2 separate regions of the Homo sapiens genome follow, and region 1 is linked to region 2. The links are contacts of gene promoters, found by promoter capture Hi-C in human tissues and cell types (Jung and others, 2019). All regions are on one chromosome and are shown on one strand. The core of a region is centred on a gene start or on the middle of the fragment in contact, and the rest is flanking DNA. Distances in the headings are between cores, read along the strand shown. Region 1 overlaps KLHL9 (kelch like family member 9). Region 2 holds the start of IFNA13 (interferon alpha 13).

Region 1 (6,279 bases), core at 1,467-3,966, 38 kb before region 2:
TCTAGAAATATACTTACTGTCCAAAAGGTATGAAACTTGAAAGATCATTTTACTACTTTTGCCAAATTGCATTCTAAACTGTAAACCAATTGACAATGCACTCAGCAATATGTAAGAGTCCTTTCTAACCCAACAGTTGAAAACAATTAAAAAACAGACTCTTTTTCAGTATTTGACATGAGAAAAATTAAATTATCATCTCAATAAATTTGACTAAATAAATGAAGAAATGGGTAGTTAATGACACACTGATCACACAGCGAAGAAATAGCCTTTCTTTCAGCCCATGGATGGTACTAAGAAAAATTTGGATCAGCTGGTACAGAAATCATTTGTAATGAAGATACACAACCCTAATTTTTTAAGACTCCTAATTAATGAGGAACTTCGTGAACAAGATCAAGGATATTTCCTTGTAACAAAGGAATCCTAAAACTAGAATTACCCCTATTAAAATTACGCATAAGACACAATTCCTCGGTCACTACTATAATTTTGCTGGAAGTATGAACCATGCTTTAATGTTTCACATTAAACTAATAATATGAAATTGGCTTTTATAATATGCAGATAATGGTTAGTTAAGGTGAAAATATGAGAATTGACCCAAAAAACTGAAGAATCAATGAGAGTCGGTAGACAGAAAACCATTATGCTAAAACCACATATTTCCTACTTCTACCAAGAGTTCAGAATATAACATAACGAAATCCCATTCAAAGCAGAAATACACAAACACACACACACACACACGTATATATCAAAGACAACTTAACTTGAAAAAAGATCATTGGAAGTGAAGAAAAATACTCTAAATTGATTGACTATAAGATTTTATGATTTTTTTTAAAGCATAAAAATTCAGCAAGGAAATGAAGATATTCAAAAAGTGGTTATGGAAAAATTAGGTAATTTGAAAAATACATTAGATTTTATGCCAAAAGTTTGGTAGAAAGTTGTATCAATAATAACAACATAAAATACTGGGATAATTATGCCACCTAATGATAAAAAAATTATTCAAGAAAGCATTAAAATGACAAAAAAACTAATTGTGCTACGTTACAAAGGAAAAACACTTGATTTCTTTGCTCACAGAACACAAGTGGGCAAATACTTGCTGTAAATAGAGAATAAAGATTAATCTTAATATAGCCAGTTGCAGTGGCTCACACCTGTAATTCTAGCCCTTTGGGAGGCTGAAATAGGAGGATCACTGGAGACCAGGAGTTCAAGAACAGCCTGGTCAACATAGCGAGACCCCATCTCAAAAAAAAATGAATGATTAATCTCAATATAAAAAGGTAAGTTTATTAATTTTAAGGAAAATCTCATTCTCATTTTAACTAGAAAGAAAAGCTACTTGAACAGGAGACAAGCAGTAAATGCCACCCTAACATGTCAAGAACTAGTAATCACAAAGCTATAGAGCTATAGTATCAAGAACAAGTAATACCACATCAGTACTATATAACAACCACCACCACCACCACACACACACACACCCCAAATTAAAAAAAACAAAAATATCACCGAAAGGTCAACATACAAAAAAGACGAACATACTTGATCATATTAAATTGAATAAAAAAGTAGAGTATAAAAAAGTATTTATAGCAAATAGGACAATTAAAGCAAAAGACAGGAGCAAATGATTTATGAAAAATACACATGCTCAATAAACAAGAAATTATAACTAGTAATTAAAGATATGTAAATCCAAACAGTGAAATAACTAGAACTGCAAAGATTTCCTTTGAAATAGTTACTGAACACAGTTCTGCTAAAAATGCATATGGTATAATCCTGGAAATATTTTTTAAGACCCTAAAAAAGCTAACACTACATGATTCCGATTTTACTTAGCATTTATCATAGGGTAGTAGCTATGGGCAAAGTTTTATGTAAGAATATTACATCTTGCTTTATTATGGTGAAAATTTATGGTAGACATTTAAATATCTACACATAAGGAAATGGAATAATTTGGCATGTTCATGGAATGAAATATTGTATAGACGCTGAACACTTTCAAAGAACAATAGCCTGAAAATCATTAAGCTGAAGCAAAAGTCAAAAATTATAAAATCCCAACTTTGTTAGTAACAACTATCATTCACTGCTTTTGTGCATATCTTATGCTAATCGCTTTATATTATTTCCTTACAAATCTGATATAAATAGAATTATTAATGATCACACCCAACCTGATAGATGTATGACAAAGCTGAAGTTTTAGAGAGTTAAACTTACCCCACAATCTTTCGGCAGTTGTTTATAATCGGTTGAGCTGGGGATGGCACATTTATGTAGTTTTAAAATGTCCTGTAGGAGCTTACTGCCTTTATAGTGAGAACAAAATAATTTTGATTACAAAAATCTGAACATGAGTGAAATGTGTTTGCTTTGCAGGCCAACTACATAAATATTACTGTAAGCAAGTGGGAAAGAAATTTAAGTCTGGATTTATCTGAATAAAAATGGAATCTGTTTTTCTAAATACATGTGCATTTGATAATTAGAAAAAAACACCTTATGATTTTTTAATATATACAGCTTTTTAAAAAATAAGAGAAAGTCATGATAATAGGAGTCTTTGGAAGGTGGATTTATTTTCATTATCCAGCTTTTAGCCTAAGGTCTGGCATACTTGAAAAATATTTGACAAATGCCTGCACATATGTACGTATATATATATATATAATATACTATTAATAGAAATTATCTTCAACATGTGGAATCACTGATAAATTAGTTTGCTTTTATTTTCCTGTACGTTCTATAATAGACATATCAAAAAAGCTAACAAATGTTAATTTTTGAATACTTTCCGAAAAACTAAAACAAGAAATGTTAACATAATGCTTTATGTGCTTTTAGTTTTTATCCTCTAAATATTTTTCCAGTCTGAACTTTCTTTAAAAAATTACCAGCTTATGAAAATAAATCTCTTTCCATTTAATCATTTCAACCACCTAAAATTTCTCTCTATAAGAAACTCCAGGTTTAATGAGCAGTACAGATTGAATATCCCTTATCTGAAATGCTTGGGACCAGAAGTGTTTTGGATTTTGGAATATTTGCATGTACATGACGTATCCTGGGGGAGGGACCCAAGTCTAAACAATATTACTTAAAACTTCGGTTATATTTCACGTTTCAGACACGTAGTCTGAAGGTAATTATAATAGTCTTAATAATGTTGTGCATGAAACAAGTCTTCACTGTGTTTTGAGTGTAACCTGTCACATGAGCTCTGGTGTGGAATTTTCTACTTGTGGCATCCTGTTGGCCCTCAAAAAGTTTTAAATTTTGGAGCAATTTGGATTTTTGGATTAGGGCTGCTCAACCTGTATTAGCATAGCATTAGTCAGCTACCTGTATGATTACCAAGAGAACTGTCAACTGCAGAATACGGGAAAGTAAAAAAATGAGAGGCAGGGTGGGTGAAGCTGGAGGTGGGGGATGTAGATAGAGCAGTTTACCTAGTAAAGCAATACTTATTTCAATAGGAAGCACCAGGTTCAGACATAAGATGTAATAAAAAGTACTTTTTTTCAATAAAAGGAAAAGCCTGTACAAAATAGAGGCAGGGCAGTATCACCTTGATATGTCAGAATAAGCACTGAAATACTACATAAAAAATAAACCATATCAAAATTATCCCCTAACCCCATCTCTACTAAAAATACAAAATTAGCCGGGCTTGGTGGTACATGCCTGTAATCCCAGCTAATCGGGAGGCTGAGGTGGGAGAATCGCCTGAACATGAGAGGCAGAGGTTTCAGTGAGCACACATCGTGCCATTGCACTCCAGACTGCACAACAGTGAGACCCTGTCTCAAAAAAAAAAAAAGACAAATTTGATCTCAAAAATTAACTGAACAGCGTTGCCTTTGTAAAACTACAACAGATTGAGGGAAGAAATAAATGCAAGCAAATGCAAGTTAAATTACATTTATTATATAAAGAGATCCTATAACTTGATACGAAAAACAAAGCAACTCCAACAGATAACAGAAGGGCAAAAGGACAGGAACATCTGATCAAAGAAACACAGCTACCGATAGCACACAAATATTCAACCTCATTAATAATCAAAGGATTAGGATGCACTTCTTGCTTATTCAATAAAGTTAATAATTTCTAATTTTTCTACTTTTCAAATGTACTCAAATGTGCTATTTTTAGTAATAAAAAACTGAGTAATTAAAAAAACATAGAAAGTATGAAAATTTCTGCCAATGCAGAAATCATAAACAGCATTAAAATGAATCAACACTTGTATGGGCAGTAAGGTTCAGACCCCTAGAAGCCAATTCATTTTGCCTTGGTTCCTGAGTTTTATTATGGGATTGTCAATAAGGAGAAAGTTGTTCCTGATTTACATGCTGACAATCTTCCAGGTATAGGGGGTTGTGTGTGTGTATTACACACACACACAATGTATATATAAATTTTTTTTCTTCAGGTAGACAATTATTCCAGGAAAGTACCTCTTCAGAATCACTCATTACAGAGAATTCCTGTAACTCCATTTGCTGATAAAAGTCCCATTAAAAATTACCATGTGGTTCTCAACCAATAGGGATACCTTTGGCATTGAAGAGGCTGAGGGTTGATTTTAGTACTGCTTGTAAGACCATAGTGTTCCAGAGGCTCTGTAGCTGGCTTCTTTGGGAATCTGAAGTTGGTCCTGTCTTTGAGACATGGCCAAAAGCACATTTTTCCTCACTTGATGCAGAAGAAAATGTTATCTCCTGCTTGCTCAGATCATAGCCTCGAGGCAGATCACACAGCTCAGGATGCACATGGACTGGAACAGCACCAGGGCAAGCACCCCAAATCACAAAATAATCATGTTAGGATGACTAAGTTGGGAGGCTGAACTTAAAACCCTATAGCTTTGTTCAGAATATTTTTTTCTTTGCTTTTTTCATTAAGTTTTACTGACCAAAAAGGTGGAAAAAAGAACCTAAATTTTCTGCACAAAAGCAGTTCTCTGAAACCTGAACTTTACCAATCTGTGTAAAAGTACTCTACAGAAAATACACAAGCAGAAAACAGTAATGTAAGCTTCATCTGAAGTAACGGTTTAGTCACATGACAAATTTGGTTGTCGATTTAGTATGCTGTAGCCCTTATCTATCTAAATTCAGTATGACTACATAGACATTTATTCTCTGGTACTGAATTTCCATTTGAATAGAAACGGCTGCTTTGTGGAAGAAAGAAACTTCAATTTAAAAACAATTTCAGCATCGTTGAAGTGCCAATCAGTTTTCAAATTATGTGTGTGTATACATATGTATGTATGTGTGCATGCATGTATGTTTGTATTATGTGTATTTTTTCCTCCTCTCTCCCTCTCTTGCTCGCTCTAGAGAGAGATACCAAATACTGGCTTGGTGCTATACTGTTTTTTCCTAGTTAATATTTTTATTATTTCTGTCTACGTAAGAAACTTCAAATATTCTGAATGCAACCACACAATCGAGTAAGTTGACAGACATGACAAAAACTACGAAAAGAGGGAGGTAACTAGTATTAATACTTGGCAACCTTTCGTTATTTTTAGTTTAGAGCGGCCTCCCTCTGACATTTTGGAGTCAAAGATGAAAACTCAACTTTGAAGCATAATGGACATAATTACACATTTACCACAGTCATCTACAATTTTATATAACATCACAAAAAGACATCTAAACATTTTTCTACGTCTTTTTTTCATTTGTTAAAACAGCTATGTTAAATACATTTTCAGAATGCATTTGTTAGCCACTTGATAAACATACTAAAAGCCATACAAGACGAATAACATCAGTTACCTTTATATCTAATAACTGTACCAATCACTGTAAGAAGATACAACTGAAGGGGAAGTATTAGATCACCCATGACGTACTGCAAAGGTGTTACACCTTAGACCTAAGAATGATCTGAAGGTGCTGAAAGAGGTGATTCTCTAGAAGGTGACCCAGGGTTTTCTTCAGGTGGAAAAACTGTGAGTGTACAGGCTCGAATGCCACCAAGTGACTCTGGAAGATCAAAAACTTTATGCCACTCATCTTTTTCTGGGTCATATTTCTGGACAATTTCTACCATACAACGATTATTCCAAGAATATCCACCAACAACATAGATTTTATTTTCAAAGACGGCAACTCCAACATCACTTTGGCCTCTTAACATGGCGGCAATTGGGGTCCACTGGTCAAGGGTTGGTGAATAGTATTCACAGCTTAGAACATCATCATAATCACTTGTTCCTCTGAAGTG
Region 2 (5,910 bases), core at 1,696-4,195:
AGAGAGAAGCATAACACATTTATTTAATCACAGGTTTATATAACTACGGAAGCCTTCAAAATGAAGACCCAAAGTACAGGAAAAAACTATCCATTTTTATGCTTATGTTCCATGAAGAATGGCCAGCTGTGTAGAAATGTGATTAGACAAAAAGGGCATCATCTAATGCTAATATTCTGAGTAGGGGAAACCCAACAAGGCCTTTCTGGTCAGATACTTCTTGGCCCCTCCATACACCATTCCTTCCTCTTGGGTATGTGGCAGAGCTCTTTTTGGAATGGGGGTCTTAGTATCTACAATCAAACAAGGCAGGTGAGAGAATTTCTTTATGGCCAGTTCAGTTCTTACACACAAAGGTGAGGGAAAGTTAGAGTCATATTTTCAGATTTTATGGCTGGCTTTGGGGAAAAGGGTCTCCCTCAGGAGATGAGGCGTGACAAACAGCAGGGCAGGAGAAGGCCAGAGAGAAACTTTGCTTCTGAAGCTGCTTCTGAGAACTTCACTTTGGGGTATTATTTTTGAGCCTCAATAGGAGTGAAAATGAGATCCAGAAAAGCTGGGGAAGAAGGAAAGAACTGTGCTGGGTATCGGAATCAGCAAATGAATGGTATGTATATTTCACTTAGGTTTAAGAAAATAAACTCTTCCAGATTTTCCTGTAAGATACCGTATCCTGACTGAATATACACATCAGACTTATCTTCAGTACGAAGGGTGACTATTTTTCAGTTTTCTCCAGAATACTCCAAGAATTCTGCGTTTTAGATTCTTATGTGTTATGGAGATTGAGGAGAGAAGAGAACATTCCCTTTTCTGTTTTCTCATTTTCTTTTTTTTCTTTTCTTTTCTTTTTTTTTTTTTTTTTTTTTGGGGACGGAGTATTGTTCTATTGCCCAGGGGCTGTAGTGCAGAGGCGCCATCTCTGCCTCCGGGGTTCAAGTGATTCTCCTGCCTCAGCCTCCCGAATAGATGGGATCACAGCTACCCAACACCATGCCTGGCCAAATTTTTGGTTTTTAGTAGAGACAGGGTTTCACCATATTGTCCAGGCTGGTCTTGAACCCCTGAACTCAAGTGATCCACCCACCTTGGCTTCCAAAGTGCTGAGATTACAAACATGAGCCACTGCACCCAGTCCCTTTTCTGATATATATGCACTAATTAAGAAAATAATAACCATATATTTATAAAATAAGAAAATAAGCATATATACATATGTTTTATATATATACACTATATATAAAATATATATATAGTGTGTGTGTGTATGTGTGTGTGTGTGTATATATATACATATATATACGTATATATATATATGTACGTATATATATACACACACACACACATACACACACACACACACACACACATACATTCTAGAGGCTGGTCTGCCTGAGATTTAGGCAGAGACACAGTTCCAGACCATATTAATCACCATTGTCTCTATTTGTCCATCCCTCTGTTTCCTTTGTGGCTCTTCTCTTCCTTCCCTTTAAAGGTGGAAGGTCCTTAGAATCACGTTTAAGTCCTTTTCTCTGTCTACACTCTCTCCACACATGAGCACTTTCATTTCTGGGATTTTGCTTGCCACATATGAACTCCCAGCAATTGCATTCCTTATAATTTGCAAACTCACATATCCAACTGGCAATAGACAGTTTCTACCACATGTTGTATCAGTCAACTTATAGAGGATATCTGTTTATTTTTATTTCCTCACATGTTTCAGTTTACCTCCTGCCGAAAGAAATCATTGTTCATTCCTTTTTCTCCTTATAGTATTCAGGATAACTGATACTAAGTATGATTACTATTTTTAGTTTTATTCCATACAAAAATCAAACATGCAAGAGAGTAGGAAGTAGATTTATTGTATTCACCTTTATAACTTGAGTACAACATACAACCTGGTTTAGAGAAAGGTCATTTTTACTTACATCTCTCATATAATAATGATGAGTAAATAAATTATACCCTTTATTCTCTCATCAGGTTGCACAGTCAGGCTAGGAATTTTGTATTAAAGAATGAACACATACAGGAAGTTCCTATAGTAAAAGTTTAATGAACAACATAAAATAATGAATTGAGTAGATATAAGGAACATGTTTTATTACACTAACCACAGTGTAAAGATGCACATGATGTTATATGAACAAAAATAATTTAAATCTTATGAATAGCTAAATAAATATTTAAATAGATAAATCAGTTTATCAGCATGGTCATAGTTATAGCAGAAGTGAGAGTCTTTGAAATGGCAGAATTCATGAAAGCGTGACCTGGTATATGAGTCAATAAGAATTGTTTCATGTTGGACCAGGTGTTATTCCTTCCTCCTTAATCTTTCTTGCAAGTTTGTTGATAAAGAGAGGGATCTCATGATTTCTGCTCTGACAACCTCCCAGGCACAAGGGCTGTATTTCTTCTCTGTCAGATAGAGAGTGATTCTTCGGAAGTATTTCTTCACAGCCAAGATGGAGTCCGCATTCATCAGGGGAGTTTCTCCCACCCTCTCCTCCTGCATCACACAGGCTTCCAAGTCATTCAGCTGCTGGTAGAGTTCGGTGCAGAATTTGTCTAGGAGGTCCTCATCCCAAGCAGCAGATGAATCTTTTGTGGTAAAGAGGTTGAAGATCTGCTGGATCAGCTCATGGAGGACAGAGATGGCTGGAGCCTTCTGGAACTGGTTGCCATCAAACTCCTCCTGGGGAAATCCAAAGTCATGTCTGTCCATCAGACAGGAGGAAGGAGAGATTCTGCTCATTTGTGCCAGGAGCATCAAGGTCCTCCTGTTATCCAGGCTGTGGGTCTCAGGGAGATCACAGCCCAGAGAGCAGCTTGACTTGCAGCTGAGCACCACCAGGGCCATCAGTAAAGCAAAGGGCGAGGCCATCATAGATATTGCAGATGCTTCTGGGCTTGCTGAGATGGGTGACTCTGAACCTTGGGCTCTAGGTTCTCTGAAGGCTTTGCTTCCTGCAGATGCCTTAAATAGGGAACATACTGATTTCCACTTTCTTAATGCTTCTGGACCACTTTCCATTTCTGTTTTTGCTTTCCTTCTTGAACTCTTTACATGAGTTTAGAGCCGTGTTTCTCAACCATTTTGTTTTTCATTATTGTCTCCCCCATCTTGTTCCCAGAGACTTTTTAGATTTTTTTTCCTAATTGAACCCACCGTGAAAATTTAATAACACAGATATAATATCTATCTATTTGTGTACTATATGTATATCTCTATACTCAAAAAGTACAAAGTTTAATCATTTTATTCAATGCAAGTTTAAAAATAACCAAATGAAAATTTTAAGATAAAAGTTAAATTTAAACGCTATTCAAATTTAACTTAACTTTATAACTAAATTTGCTTGTGGGCTTCAATATAGTTTATTTACTGATATAAATTGTAATGTATTAAATTACATAAGAAATTTAACAAATTATAAACATTATCTAATGTTTCTAGATAAACATTATACAGCTAAGTAATGAATGTTTATGAATTATTTGAAACTGATAAAGACTTAATAATTTAAAATATTTTTATCATTTATTTTTATTATACTTAACTTTTAATTTTGTTGCATGTGAGAAAATTTTTAACTTCACTAGCTGCTAGATACTCACCTAGAGAGTGTGAAGAATTTTTTCTTCAATTCTTGACCTAAATATAGATGTGTTGAACAACTTCAGTAGAATTGTTAAAATATAAATTATTTATATTTCATTTCAAAGCCCACAACACAGACAGAAATGCTAAGGATCAAACATAAGCAATATCTATAAGATGGCCAGTGACAAACCATATGTATGCAGAGGACACCTCTCATGATATGACTTTGAGATCTAATACATCTTGGAAAGTACTCCAATCACAGCTACCCATTTGCCATAGGTTTGTAATGCTGAACTTTTATACCTTTTGTGTATCTTCCATGAACTCAATGTCAGTGCTTCTCATGTGATACACAAGAAAACCCAATGGAGAGAAAAAAAAAAAAACTAAGGAATAAGATTTTGTTAAATAGGTTGAGCTTTGAAGGGCCACAAACCATTTAAATATGTAAGATTTGTTCCCACTCCCAAGAACTAACTTCTACATCCTTGGGAGTAGTATCATATGCAATGAGAATACACAATTGAAAAAACATCCTCGATTTGATTAAAAATTTTTTGCATGAAAGTTCAAATTTCCAAGGTGCCTTCAGAGGTTCTTTGCTGATTCCTAGCAAACTAAAGGAAACTATCTTTGTCCTAGATGCGCATAATAGGATGTAAATATAATAACATAAATAAGTAGACAATTGTTTTACATAGCATGCCAGACACCAGATATCTTTCTTTCTCATTTCATTTTCATAGAAAGCAAAAGTTGTCACTTTTTGCATCCTAACTAATGGGAACAAAAAGATAACACAAGTGGCCGGGCGTCGTGGCTCACATGTGTAATGCCAGCACTTTGAGAGGCCGAGGCAGACGGATCATCTGAGGTTGGGAGTTTGAGACCAGCCTGACCAACATAGTGGAGGTTAAGGGGTGGGAAAGAACAGAAGCAAAATAGTAGAAGGGATGTAGGTCAAGGTAACACGTAAGTATGGGCTGGAAGAAAAGTAATTACTCCTGGTCCACAGTGTGTTTTCAGATTTACCGAACCCCATCTTGCAAATATACCAACTGCAAGAGTTTATACACAAGAAAGAGAAATTTTTGAGAGTACAATATTCTCTCTGGAAAATGGGTCAGTGTTCATTGCACCAAGCTCTCCACTATTGGATAAGTAAACTTAGAAGGTCAGTTTTTTTCTTCTTATATTTCTAGTAAGAAACAAGAGAATTGATAATTTCAGAGGACACTTCCCTAACTTTTAATAGAGTTATATAATAAAGATAATGTTAATAAGAGAAATGAAATATCAGGCCGGGTGCGGTGGCTTACGCCTGTAATCCCAGCACTTTGGGAGGCCGAGCTGGGCAGATCACCTGAGGTCAGGAGTTTGAGACTAGCCTGACTAACATTTTGAAACACCGTCTCTACTAAAAATACAAAATTAGTCTGGTGTGGTGGCACATGCCTGTAATCCCAGCTGAAGCAGAAGAATTGCTTAAACCCAGGAGGTGGAGGTTGCAGTGAGCTGAGATCATGCCTTTGCACTCCACTTGCACCCCAGCCCAGGCAACAAGATTGAAATTCCGTCTTAAAAAAAGAAGGAATGAAATATCTAAATTGTGGAAAGTCTTTATTTATTTTCAGTCAGACACTGTTTTTAGCACTTGCATAATCAATGCTTACTTAATCAATAAAGAATATCCATTTTTCATATTTACTGAACGTCTACCATGTACCTAGCCCCATTTATTCACTAGATATATCACTGACCAAAGCACACAGTGATAGATTTTACTATTATCCCCATATGCAAAAGAAAAAAAATGAAATCCCAGGGAGCTATTAAGTTGTGGAGCCACAGTTTGGATGGAGAAAATTCAGCTCTGAAGTCTTACTTCTTACATGCTCTCTGGGACTATTTCTGGACAAAAGAACCAGAGCTGATTTCTAGGACAATCAATGTTTTCCTAGTAGAGTCCTTACTATGTAATGACAGGGTCTTTCTCTTCAGTTTCCATTTGTCTTCTTCATTGAAATGCCCCATTTGTCCATGCCAACATGTTACATTACAATTAAATTGGGCCCCACTTTACTTTCACATTATATTCTAGTTTTGTCTTCTTGAGGATACACCATCATAAGCATGAACATATTTGTAAAACATATTGTTCACCCCAGTGAATATATTCATCAACCCTTTATATTTCTGTCAATTTAAAATTCTACATAGTACTATTCTTTTAATCAAATATCCACAATACTTTAGATTTCCCCATGTGTAGCACAAATTTAAGAAAGAAC

What was found. Contacts are between HindIII fragments. The study calls those that stand out against the background at their distance.
Region 1: a fragment that was not itself captured here is called in contact with the fragment with the promoter of IFNA13 in region 2 in 1 of the 25 tissues and cell types used here (small bowel).

What each region holds. Positions count from the first base shown.
Region 1 is chr9:21,327,078-21,333,356 of GRCh38, forward strand. KLHL9 (kelch like family member 9) reads right to left here. Exons shown (of 1, transcript NM_018847.4): 1 at 2,588-6,279. The coding sequence ends at 5,929. All of the region lies in intron 2 of LOC107987053 (a long non-coding RNA gene), which reads left to right. Among named protein-coding and RNA genes, the nearest start is that of KLHL9, 5.2 kb to the right of the region's middle. The HindIII fragment of the contact is 7,144 bases long and covers 1-6,279 here.
Region 2 is chr9:21,365,112-21,371,021 of GRCh38, forward strand. IFNA13 (interferon alpha 13) reads right to left here and starts at 2,946. Exons shown (of 1, transcript NM_006900.4): 1 at 2,261-2,946. The coding sequence starts at 2,899. The coding sequence ends at 2,327. The HindIII fragment of the contact is 15,253 bases long and covers 1-5,910 here.